3 separate regions of the Homo sapiens genome follow, and all the other regions are linked to region 1. Evidence: promoter capture Hi-C in human tissues and cell types (Jung and others, 2019). All regions are on one chromosome and are shown on one strand. Each heading gives the region's core, a stretch centred on a gene start or on the middle of the fragment in contact. The rest is flanking DNA. Distances are from core to core; before and after follow the strand shown.

Region 1 (4,006 bases), core at 680-3,179:
TGTGTAACATGAGCAAAATCATGGGTGAGAACAAAGTTTTTAACTGCTCATGTTGCCTGATTTTCTTTAAGGTTTTGTGTTTTAATTAAGAGACCAAGCGTGTTTGGCAGTAGTTTCTACCACAGGTTTTGAGAGATGAACTGCAAGGAAGAGAACAGACACCTTCATCTAAATAGATGTACTATTTCCATTGGTTGGTCCCCATCATGAATTTCCCATTTTGTTGTGATTGGCGTATGAAACTATGAGTTAACCTTTCCTCTATTTAATTTTAGAATTCATCAATTCCAAAGAGAAAGAAGCCTACAAATAAAGCCCAGGGGTACATTCCCATTTCTGTCTATAGGGGACCTGTGGGCACACAGCCTGAGGAGCAGCCCCACTTACTTGAAGGCTGGGGATTCTAAAGACCTCCTCCAAACGGCACAGACCACTTTCACTCAAGTCTAAAATCGGTGAGGAGGAAAAGATGATGCCTCCAACACCCTTGTGAACATCTTTGGAGGGGGTGGCAGGCAAGCTCCTAGTCTGACCAGCACCCTCCTCCAGATCAGCAGCAGCCACAGAGGGAACTTCGTAGGAGCTGCTTCCCTCCATCCGTTCTCTTCCAGGGACAGCAGCTCATCCTCCTTGGTCTGGAGTCACCTGGAGACACGGGAAAGGGAAACGTAGAAGCAACTAATTATACCGAGGCAAAACAGAATAGCTGTGTGGCAGATCTACTGTAATGTAACTTGCTTTAAAAGCTATCATTTTTCCTAAGCAGTAGCAAAAATTTGACTTTTAAACATGTAAAAAAAAAAAAAAGGAATACAAAGAGGTTCAGATTAAAATTCTCTGCTCTCACTTTGTACAATGGAGTTCCAAGATTTAACTCCTGGAAAACGCAAAGGCGCACAATAGTAATGATCATTTTAGGGATGTAAACAGATCGGAACATTTCAAAGCCTGTAAATCAACTGCAACGCTTCCATGAAATGACTAGGGGCGGGTGGAAATTTGCACTGTTTCTTACCTCTGGTGTGGTTCTGTGCCATTTGAACTATGTTTTTAGTTTCTTGAGGCCAGGAAGCCTGTCTTTTGTTTACCATTTTGACCCAGTGACCAGAACTAAGTCTGGCTTACACCCAGTTAAGCACCGGGGAAAAACCTGTTAAATTAATCTCGAATTTTCGTTGTCCAGCAACACTTTTACTCAGAAGTATTGTTCACCAAAATCTCATTCAGCGAGGCACACTTCCACTTGCAATTTCCAAACAATTTATTCGGCAATAAGAATCAACGTTGGAATGCATCAGTTCACCTAATTCAAGTCACTCAACAGCCCAATGATTGGCATATGAGGCGCAGATCAGTTAGGGAACTGTTCCAGGGGCGCAGTTAATTGGGGGGTAGAGGCGACACCGGGACCCAGCAGGGTTCAACCCCAGGCAGCCTGCATTCCATGGAAGCCCGCGGGCTTTTTCACGGTCAGTTCACTTGTTTTCTCCGAATCACGGAACTTAAAACAGAGGAGGGGAGGCTTCAAACCTCAGAACAGGGAAAGTATCTTAAAACCAGAAGTGAAACAACAGCCTGGACTCACACAGGGCCCAGGCAGCGCAGGCTCCGTGGGGTTTCCGAGGCTGCCTTCAAGGGATCCCCACGCACGCCCACCCCCGCTCCCTGCCTCGATTTCCCCATCCGGGCGAGGCTGAGTTGGGTCCGACGCTCTGGGCCTCACATTCCAGGCCTCAGAAGGGCAGCCTTTGCGGTCAGCATCGCGGCTGGAGCTAGGCGACAGGGCACGACGGGCCGAGGCACCACCTTCCTGCCGCCGCCCGCCTCGAGGGCTCAGCGAGCTGGCCGTACCCGCCCCGTCTCACCTGCCGCGTCCCCGCCCACTGAAGCGCTGGCGAGCCCCGCCGCTGAGAGCAGCAGCCCGACAATGGAGGCCACCCAGCCAACGCGGTCGCCATGGAGACGCCGGTACGGAATCCCGCAGGCGCCACGCTGAGCGCGAGTGTGTCTGTGATGCGCCTGCGCGAGGGGTGTGGTGCGCCTGCGCGCGGGGGTGTGCGTGTTGTGGGGGTTTGTGCCTGCGTGCGGGGGCGGGGTGTGGGTGCCCCTGCGCGGCAGGGGGTCGGGTGTGGTGCGCCTGCCCGGGAGGGGGCGGGGTGTGGTGCGCCTGCGCTGGGGCGGGGGGTTGCGCTTGCGGTGGGGGGGTTGTGGTGCGCCTGCGCGGGGGTGGCAGGGGGTGGTGCGCCTGCGCACGCACGCGGCCAACGGTAGCATCCGTTTTTCCGCGCCCGCGGCCTTGAAGGGGTGGTGGTCGACGGGCAAGTAGAGACCGCGAGGGTCTGGAGGGGCGACCGGCCTGGCACAGAGGGGAAGGAAGAGAGCGGGATGCTAAGTGCCGTCTGGGGAGCCGGAGGGCCCGGGGCGGGCGGGGCTGCTCGAGGACAGCCGAGCAGAAAAGAATTGCTGCTGAGGCACCACCTTTGGAGCGGTCCTCGCTGCCTGTCCTTCCCGCTGGGCTCACTCCCCGCGTCTCTCCTGGGGCTTCCTGGAGCCACTTCCCACAGGAGCTGCTTGTCCCCAAATCTTGCCTCAGGACTTGCTGCCAGGGGAACGCAGACTCAGAGCGTCCTCTTTGGAGAAGTAAGGCTGCCTCTGGACGGAGGAGTGAGGGGGGCGAGGAAACGCAGTGAGTGTCCTGAGGAAGGGTTTTGAGAATTTGGAAGAAGATGAAATGACACCGGGCGGGAGGGGAGGTGCTCGCGTGGTCCTGTGGAACCCTGGAGTCCCGTGCACCTTCATTCCAGGATCCAACTGATAATGAAAAGTAGCACCCTCTGTCCCACCCAGAAACACTCTGGAAACCCGGACAGTTTAGCTGGAGTCTGCCATGATTTCACTTTTTTTTTTTTTTTTTTTTTTTTGAGGTGGAGTCTTGCTTTGTCTCCCAGGCTGGAGTGCAGTAGCGCGATCTCGGCCCACTGCGACCTCCGCCTCCCAGGTTCAAGCAATTCTCCTGCCTCAGCCTCCCCAGTAGCTGGGACTACAGGCGCGCGCCACCACGTCCAGCTAATTTTTGTATTTTTAGTAGAGACGGGGTTTCATCATGTTGGCCAGGCTGGTCTCGATCTCCTGACCTCATGATCCGCCCCCCTCGGCCTCCCAAAGTGCTGGGATTACAGGCATGAGCCACCGTGCCCGGCCTGATTCCACTTTTTAAAGGAAACGACATAATTATGTGGAGAAACGACTATCCACTTTGAGGGGATTTACGTTTTATTTTTGTGAAGAGATCACAGTAAGAAATGTTTTTTAGGCCGGACACGATGGCTCACGCCTGTAACCCTAGCACTTTGGGAGGCCAGGGTGGGAAGATCGCTTGAGGCCAGGAGTTGGAGACCAGCCTGGGCAACCCAGTCTCTACAAAAATTAAAAAAAAAAAAAAAAAAAAATGCTGGGTGTGGTGGCACACACCTGTAGTTCCAGCTGTGTGGGAGGGTGAGGCAAGAGGATCGCTTGAACCTAGGATTTTGAGGCTGCAGTGAGTTATGATTGTGCCACTTAATGTCAGCTTCGGTGACAGCGAGACCCTGTCTCAAAAAAAAAGTTTTCGTACATACCCAACTATCTACCAATCAGGAAGCTGAAAGCACAACCAGTACCTTCTCAGGAGCGTGGGGAGGCCAGCCACCCGGGCAGAGCAAGGAGAGAATGAGGAGTGACATGGGTGTTGCCGTGAGTGGCGAAGGGGATGGAAGATTTCAGCACGATGCTATTTCTAACAAGTTTCAGCATTCCAGTATCTCTTTTCACAAATAAAACATTTACTAACCATTTGAGCGTATTCCCTCTTGCTTGTTATTGTTGCCTCAGGTTTTTGTTTCACATTTTTCATGCTACATTAATTTTTGTAGTCAGTAGTTAATTGTATGTACGAGCATGTTTTGCCCTTTACTGTGCTCAGTTTTTGCCCAGCCAGATTGTATCCATTGGTAGCCTTTTGGCAAGT
Region 2 (4,006 bases), core at 1,090-3,589, 430 kb before region 1:
ACAGGAAGAAGCTCGTGAGGAGGACGAGAGGCCTGGGCCACCACTGCCTTCTGGAGGCTCCTCCAACCTGTCCAAAAACTTCCCCTGGACACCAAAGTGCTCCGTCACTTTCAAGGCTCAGACCTCAGCACTGCCTCTGGCTTCAGGAAAGCCTGTGTCCCCAAGCTGAGGACACATCCTCCAGCTCCCACCCAAGCTCCGAGGCCGCATCCTCCAGCTCCCACCCAAGCTCCCTGAAGCCGCATCCTCCGGCTCCCACCCAAGCTCCCTGAGGCCGCATCCTCCAGCTCCCACCCAAGCTCCGAGGCCGCATCCTCCAGCTCCCACCCAAGCTCCCTGAAGCCGCATCCTCCGGCTCCCACCCAAGCTCCCTGAGGCCGCATCCTCCAGCTCCCACCCAAGCTCCGAGGCCGCATCCTCCAGCTCCCACCCAAGCTCCCTGAGGCCGCATCCTCTGTCTCCCACCCAAGCTCCAAGGCCGCATCCTCCAGCTCCCACCCAAGCTCCGAGGCCGCATCCTCCAGCTCCCACCCAAGCTCCGAGGCCACATCCTCCAACTCCCACCCAAGCTCCCTGAGGCCGCACCTCCGGCTCCCACCCAAGCCCACCCAAGCTCCCTGAGGCCGCATCCTCCAGCTCCCACCCAGGCTCCCTGAGGCCGCACCTCCAGCTCCCAATCTTGCTCCCAGCTGACAGGCAAAGTCCACATCTGCCAGTGGAAGTCCCCTGCGGCTTCCAACAGTGAGAACTGCTCTGTGCTGGCAAATCTGCATAAAAATGCACACAAACATCCACACCCAGGCACACATCTCCACGCGTGAACACACACACATGTGCACACACATCCGTGGAGCACAGCCACATGCATGAGCCCTACACACGTCACACATGTTCTCACTCATGCTCTCACTCATGCTCACATATGCAACCATGTACGCGAGCACACCTTATGCACACACATCCACAACTGTGTGACGCACGCCCCACGCACATCTGCACCAGGTCTGCACACACACGGACACCCACGCAACATCTGCACATTCAAACCCAGGCACACACACGCATGCCTTAAACACATCCACACCCACATAGACACACTGCATTTGGAGGCCCCGATATTGCCAGAAAGATCCATAACACACAGTCCCCGTAGGTCCCTCGTGAGCAAGTCTGATAAGAAAGTATTTTGCATATTGGAAAAAACCTTTTTTGGAAAAAGATAACAGAATTACTTATTACTCTCAGCTGCTTTTTTCATGTCATGAAAAGGGCAGGAGAAGGTGCAGTTTGCACACAAGTGCAGGACACACAGATACATGTGCACACACAAAAACACTATGCACACAAGAACACACACGTGCACACACAGATGCACACGTGCACACACAGATGCACAGGTGCACACACAGATGCACTCGTGCACACACACTCGTGCACATGTGCACACACACAGACGCATACGTTCACACACAGACGCACCTGTGCACACAGATGCACAACACACACGTGTACACACAGGTATGGTACACACACTCTGGATGCACACAGAATGCACACACTCATGCCCAGCACAAACTGGCACACACAGACACGCAGATGCACCAGAGACTGGGAGGGTGGAGACGCCACCTTCCCGGCCGGGTTCATCCAGCAAACAGCATGTTCCATACCTGGGAGGGAACGAGATGTCCAGTTCATACAGTCTGTCCTTAAAGACAGACAACTCCTTGTCAAACTCCAAGAGCTAAAGAAAAGAAAGAGCAGAAAATAAAGTCACATTGGTTTTCCTCGCTGGGGGCACGTGTGTCTGTGTGCAGCTGGGACGCTCAAATGCTCGGTGTGACATCTGCTCTTCCCAGAGCCGCCACATCTGTCACCAGAAAGCTCTGTGGTGCCAGCAGGCTCTGGTGTTCGCCTGCCTCTGCTGCAGACAGTGGGACCTGCCCTGCCCGTTATAGATGTGCTCTGCCCACCCATAAAGCTTTCTCTGTTGGTGACGCCAGAGAAGCACTCATGGCCTCGGGCACTGCCGTGGCAGCCCCAGTAGCAGCCCCTCTCGGCCTCTCCTCCCTAGTGCTGGCTCCCCCAGCAGAGGGAACACAGCTCCTGTCCTGCCCAGAGTGTCAAGTAACCTGCAGAGTGAGCAATGTCAGCTTTGTGAGAACAGGTCAGGGAAAATGGCCCCAAGGTGCACACTGGTGAGATTCTGGCAGCAGTTCGGGGGCAAAATGTTCATTCTCACATGCACGGGAGGCAGCAAATGGCCTTGCCCCCTGAGACTCTTCCAAAACAAGCCCCAGGCGGGCATCACCTCCCACACCTGCAGGACTGGCCCACCGTGTTTCTGAGCGGTCACCACACACACCCTCCCACCCCTGCAGGACTGGCCCGACCATGTTCCTGAGTGTCACCACGCACACCCTCCCACCGCAGCAGGACTGACCCGGTCGTGTTTCTGAGTGTCACCACGCACACCCTCCCACCCCTGCAGGACTGGCCCGGCCGTGTTCCTGAGTGTCACCACGCACACCCTCCCACCGCAGCAGGACTGACCCGACCGTGTTCCTGAGTGTCACCACGCACACCCTCCCACCCCTGCAGGACTGGCCCGACCGTGTTCCTGAGTGTCACCACGCACACCCTCCCACCACAGCAGGACTGACCCGGCCGTGTTTCTGAGTGTCACCACACACACCCTCTCAACCCTGCAGGACTGGCCCGACCGTGTTTCTGAGTGTCACCACGCACACCCTCCCACCGCAGCAGGACTGGCCCGACCGTGTTCCTGAGTGTCACCACACACACCCTCCCACCACAGCAGGACTGACCCGGCCGTGTTTCTGAGTGTCACCACGCACACCCTCCCACCCCTGCAGGACTGGCCCGTGTTCCTGAGTGTAACCACGCACACCCTCCCACCCCTGCAGGACTGGCCCGGCCGTGTTCCTGTCACCATGCACACCCTCCCACCCCTGCAGGACTGGCCCGACCGTGTTCCTGAGTGTCACCACACACACCCTCCCACCCCTGCAGGACTGACCCGACCGTGTTTCTGAGTGTCACCACGCACACCCTCCCACCGCAGCAGGACTGACCCGACCGTGTTCCTGAGTGTCACCACACACACCCTCTCAACCCTGCAGGACTGGCCCGGCCATGTTCCTGTGCGGTCACCATGCACACCCTCTCTGGTGCTATTCATTAGTCATGGCCCCACAGCTGTGCAGGGCATGGCATTGAGCTAGAGCTCCCTCAAAACCACACCATATCCCAGCTCTTCCTGTGACCTCGTCCATTATCCCTGAAATGGGCAATCAGCAGCCTCATGCACACAGTCATTACCCTGTGCCAGGCTGCTACCTGAGCCACCGGCCCAGGCCTCCTGCCTGGAGCACAGGCGTTCACAGCCCCACTGCCTCCTGCCTCCTAAGAGGGTACAGCTCCAGTTCCCCTTCCAGGGAGCAACTCCCTCCCTCCAGCACCCACAGCCTCTGGGAAGGGCCCCAAGTCAGCTCCTAAATGGGGTGGGGATGCAGCGGAGGCCTCGGGAGACGGATGCCCCTCCTCAAAGGCAGAGTAGGGGCATGGGCTCTGGAGCAATTCTGCACATGCGTGTTTATGTGTACACAGGCATGTGTTTGCATGCAGGCACGTTTATGCATGCACAGGCATGTGTGTGTTTGCATGCAGATGTGTTTATGCGTGTACAGGCATGTGTGTTTGCATGCAGGCATGTGTTTATGTGTGCAACGGCATGTGTGTTTGTATGCAGGCATGTGTGTGCATGCAGGCACATGTTTATGCATACACAGGCATGTGTGTGTTTGCATGCAGGCACGTGTTTATGTGTGCACAGGCATGTGTGTGTGCATGCAGGCATGTTTATGTGTGCACAGGCATGTGTGTGTTTGCATGCAGGCATGTTTATGTGTGCACAGGCATGTGTGTGTTTGCATGCAGGCACATGTTTATGTGTGTGTGCATGCAGGCACGTGTTTATGTGTAT
Region 3 (4,006 bases), core at 559-3,058, 260 kb before region 1:
CTACAGAAGCATGAAACAACAAACTGGTGTTATTTTAAGCCACGACATCCGTGGCCACCTGTTACACAGCACAGAAAGTCCTGCGTGTGCCTCAGATTAGGACTATACATGCCTGTATCAGAAAATAAAATTAATATTATTTTAAACATTTTTGGCCGGACACGGTGGCTCACGCCTGTGATCCGAGCACTTTGGGAAGCCAAGGCGGGCGGATCACCTGAGATCAGGAGTTTGTGACCAGCCTGGCCAACATCACAAAACCCCATCTCTACTAAAAATAGCTGGGTGTGGTGGCGCCCGCCTGTAGTCCCAGCTACTTGGGAGGCTGAGGCAGGAGAATCACTTGAACCCGGGAGGCGGAGGCTGCAGTGAGCTGAGGTCGTGCCACTGCACTCCAGCCTGGGCCACAGAGCAAGACTCCATTTCAAACAAACAAACAAACAAACAAACAAACATTTTTGCCCCACTTAGATTTTGTTTTGGTATAATGTCTATAGTAAGACCCCAATTTAAACCTTTCCCCGAATAGTTAACAAACTATCTTACAATGGATTGTTAAACTGTATGAATCCTCCTGTTCCTCACACTACTATGCAGTCAACCTGCCCCTCCCTCTCTCAGGTAGCTTTACCAAATGTGTGCTTCATTTATGTTTTCAAACTGTTGCCATTTCCTTAATTTGCTGTCTTTCTGGGGTTTTTTTCTGTATTTTATTCAATAATTTTTGGATTTATATAATCCTTCCGTAATTCCCTCATTTATGGCACAGTTCTATACTCTAGCCTTATAAGTGAAACGCTTTGTCTTTTCACTGTTATTATTTCTTGTTTAATAGCAACAACGCTGAATACCACGCTGAATACCACATGAGACGTGGATTCGAAACATCCCACCCCACACACGCTGACACCTCATCCCAGAGCCGGCTCTTTCCTCCTGGGCAAACCCAGTCATTCCCTCGGACAAGGAAACACAGCAAGGGCGCCCGTTACGCCCAGTGCCATTTCACCTGACATATCGGGGGAGGGAATGAGACCCGAAAGGGAACACATGCAGAGGCGCAGCTCCGGGAAAGGAGATCTGAGCTCCCTGCACCTGCAGATGGCGTCACAGCACACCTGGAGGGGCAGAGAAGCAGGCAGAAAAAGGACAGACAACAGGAGAATCCAGGAAAGCAGGAGGTCCTGAAATTAACAGACAAAACAACAGCCATCACAGACACCAACAACAACCAGGCGGAAGGCCTGCTGGAAGAGAAGGCCCGCTTCCAATGCAACAAGGAAAAAGGTAACCTCACAAACGACCTTTTGCATATGTGAACATTGTGTAAGAGAAAAACTTTAAGACATTCCTGAAGGAAACGAACAAAAGCTTTGAGTCCATGAAAAGACCTCTCTTGTTTCCAGGGACCATGACTCGGCGCCATAGAGCTGTCAGTCCTCTCCAAGCGAGCGCAGAAATAGCCCTGGCCTGTCCCACAGCCTGCCAGCGGCCCGCCCCGCCCAGCCCAAACCAGACAAGGTGATTCTAAAGTTCATATGGAAAAATAAACTATGACTCAAAATCCAAACACAATCCTTAAAAAGAGTGAGTCAACTCTAACTTTTTTTAAACTTTGGCATGGCAAAATCAAAAGACAAATGTCAAACTGGTTGAAAATATTTGCAATATATATCACAGATAATTAATCTTCTTGCAATTGAAAGAACTCTTAAAAGTCAAGGGAAAATACAAAACAAAACAAAACTGATGGAAAAACGGGCAAAGGACCCATAGAGGAGTCACAGAAGATCCCCAAATGGCGTCATACATGAGGAGCCTCCTCCCGCCAAGCTGGGAGTGGGGCGATGCCACCTTCCCTGTGACAGCAGCCTGGGCCCCCAGAGCTGATGGCACAAGAAGCGCCCAAGCTCACCTTGGTAATGTTCCTGCCCAAAATCTCTAAGTGAAAACCATGGAGCAACCAACTACCTAACTAACCACGGACAGGACACAGCTAACCACGGAGCGAGCAATGACCACAGTGACCCACACGGCAGGCTGCCCTAAAGACAAGTGGGCTAGACTCTTTCAGATGGCAATGCCAGAAAGAGCAAAGCAGGGGCCGAGATGAAAAGACTCAAACACTCACGACCTCCAAAGACGGCACGTGGCCCCTGTGTACATCCAGGAAGAGGAAGAGGGGACTCAACGCTACCGAGGCTGTCTGGAAGCAACGGGGTGCGGTGATTCTAGACGCGACGCTTGAGATCACTGCACCGAGGACCCATCGCTGGAGGGTGCGACCAGCATGGTGGTCGGAACATCCTCGAACGCAGGCCCCACTGACATCTTTACACGTGTCGCAATGTCCACACCTGTGTTCCAACAGTGTCTCCCCCACACTCCTCTGTGCCCCAGGAGGTGTTGGACACAGCCAGCCTGACTTCCCAGCCTCCCTGCCGGCAGACAGCTGCTGGAAACCACCTGCACTCCTAGCGCGGACAGTGTGGGGGACATCATGGAGGCCGCACTGTCCCTCCCCACACAGAACGGCATCATCACAGACGGAGACGATACTGTCAGTCCCCACACAGGACGGCGTCACCACGGATGAAGGCCACACTGTCCCTCCCCACAGGACGGCATCTGACCACTGCAGGAGGCCCCATCCCACAGGACGGCATCTGACCACTGCAGGAGGCCGCATCCCTGGCGTCCCTCGCCAGCCACATACCTTGACCAATTATTTCAAGCCAACTTCTGGAAAGCCCAGGTGCCATAACTCTCAGCCACCTTCGAGCCTCCACTTGTAGACCGTGTCCTTTTCCAGCCGTGTTGACAATGTGAAACCATCCGTGCAGGAGCCATGGGTCTCGTCGAGGGGCTCCCCGAGGCCTGGCATGGCATTGCACATCGGTGCCCTCCCACCACGCCCTGCTCCAGCCTCCTCTGTGACCTCCCTGTGCTGGCGCCAGGCGTGGCCCTGGGTGGAGGCTGTGGGCTCCCTGGCATGGGATAACCTGCGTCACCCCCTAACCCCACAACACCCCTCGCACTGCTGGTCTGCACAGGGCGAGAGTGGAAAGCCAGGAGCGTCTCTTGGAGTCCGAGGCCACCTCTGGTCTGTCTGCTCTCTGAAGGCCATGAGACAACACCGTTTGGGAGGACAGGGCAGCAGGGCCATCCCTCTCCCACTCACCAAGCACTGCCTGGGCCCTGGCTGGCAGGGAGCACTCGGGGTTCTGGGACACACAAGACCCACAAGCTGTGCAGTGCACACCGGCAAGAAACCTCTACAGGCAGAAGGCTTCCCAAGGCAGGACTCCGTCCCAACAGGAAGAAAATGCTGGAAGCAGTGGAGGCTGTGGCCAGTGGGGCCTGAGGAAGGACAGGAGGGGCGAGTGCCTCGGCTTGGACCGCGGCCCCTACCGGAGGCCCTGGCAAAGGGACCCTCAGGGTTTGGAACCAGGTGCCCACATTCTGACCCACCATCCAGGACCTTCTGCAAACTCCACCTTCCCTTTGCCTCAAGAACCCGCACAGCAAGCCTAGTGGGAAGGCACTCCCACAGCTTCCTCGAGCCCGCATGCGCACGTGGCCCTGCAGGGTGTGGGTGCCGCCTGTCAAACGACCCCAGCGCTCCCTCAGCAGGCAGGCAGAGTGAACGCCTGGTCAGAAGGACTAGTGGGCTTCAGAGACTGGGCAGGAACCCTGCACGTGGCGCAGATGTGGATTCCAATCCACAAAAGCCGGGAGGCCTGGGCAGCAGCCCCCACACCCTGGACCACACCCCACACTCCAAGAAACAGTGACCACTGATGGCGACACACACCAGAACGTGGGACCACACACCACACTCCAAGAAACAGTGACCACCGATGGCGACACACACCAGAACGTGGGACCACAACCCACACTCCAAGAAACAGTGACCAGCGATGGCGACACACACCAGAACGTGGGACCACATCTCACACTCCAAGAAACAGTGACCACCATGACAACACACACAGAACGCGGGACC

The links. Contacts are between HindIII fragments. The study calls those that stand out against the background at their distance.
Region 2: a fragment that was not itself captured here is called in contact with the fragment with the promoter of LRRC27 in region 1 in 3 of the 25 tissues and cell types used here (dorsolateral prefrontal cortex, heart right ventricle and hippocampus).
Region 3: a contact is called between a fragment that was not itself captured here and the fragment with the promoter of LRRC27 in region 1, in 1 of the 25 tissues and cell types used here (liver).

What each region holds. Positions count from the first base shown.
Region 1 is chr10:132,330,116-132,334,121 of GRCh38, reverse strand. LRRC27 (leucine rich repeat containing 27) reads right to left here and starts at 1,929. Exons shown (of 11, transcript NM_030626.3): 1 at 1,866-1,929; 2 at 388-645. The coding sequence starts at 597. It also overlaps a transcript of STK32C not described here. RefSeq lists a silencer at 2,108-2,227 and an enhancer at 2,112-2,646. The HindIII fragment of the contact is 23,116 bases long and covers 1-4,006 here.
Region 2 is chr10:132,763,511-132,767,516 of GRCh38, reverse strand. INPP5A (inositol polyphosphate-5-phosphatase A) reads right to left here. Exons shown (of 16, transcript NM_005539.5): 12 at 1,671-1,744. Among named protein-coding and RNA genes, the nearest start is that of NKX6-2, 21 kb to the left of the region's middle. The HindIII fragment of the contact is 6,162 bases long and covers 1-4,006 here.
Region 3 is chr10:132,588,854-132,592,859 of GRCh38, reverse strand. All of the region lies in intron 1 of INPP5A (inositol polyphosphate-5-phosphatase A), which reads right to left. Among named protein-coding and RNA genes, the nearest start is that of INPP5A, 53 kb to the right of the region's middle. The HindIII fragment of the contact is 5,722 bases long and covers 1-4,006 here.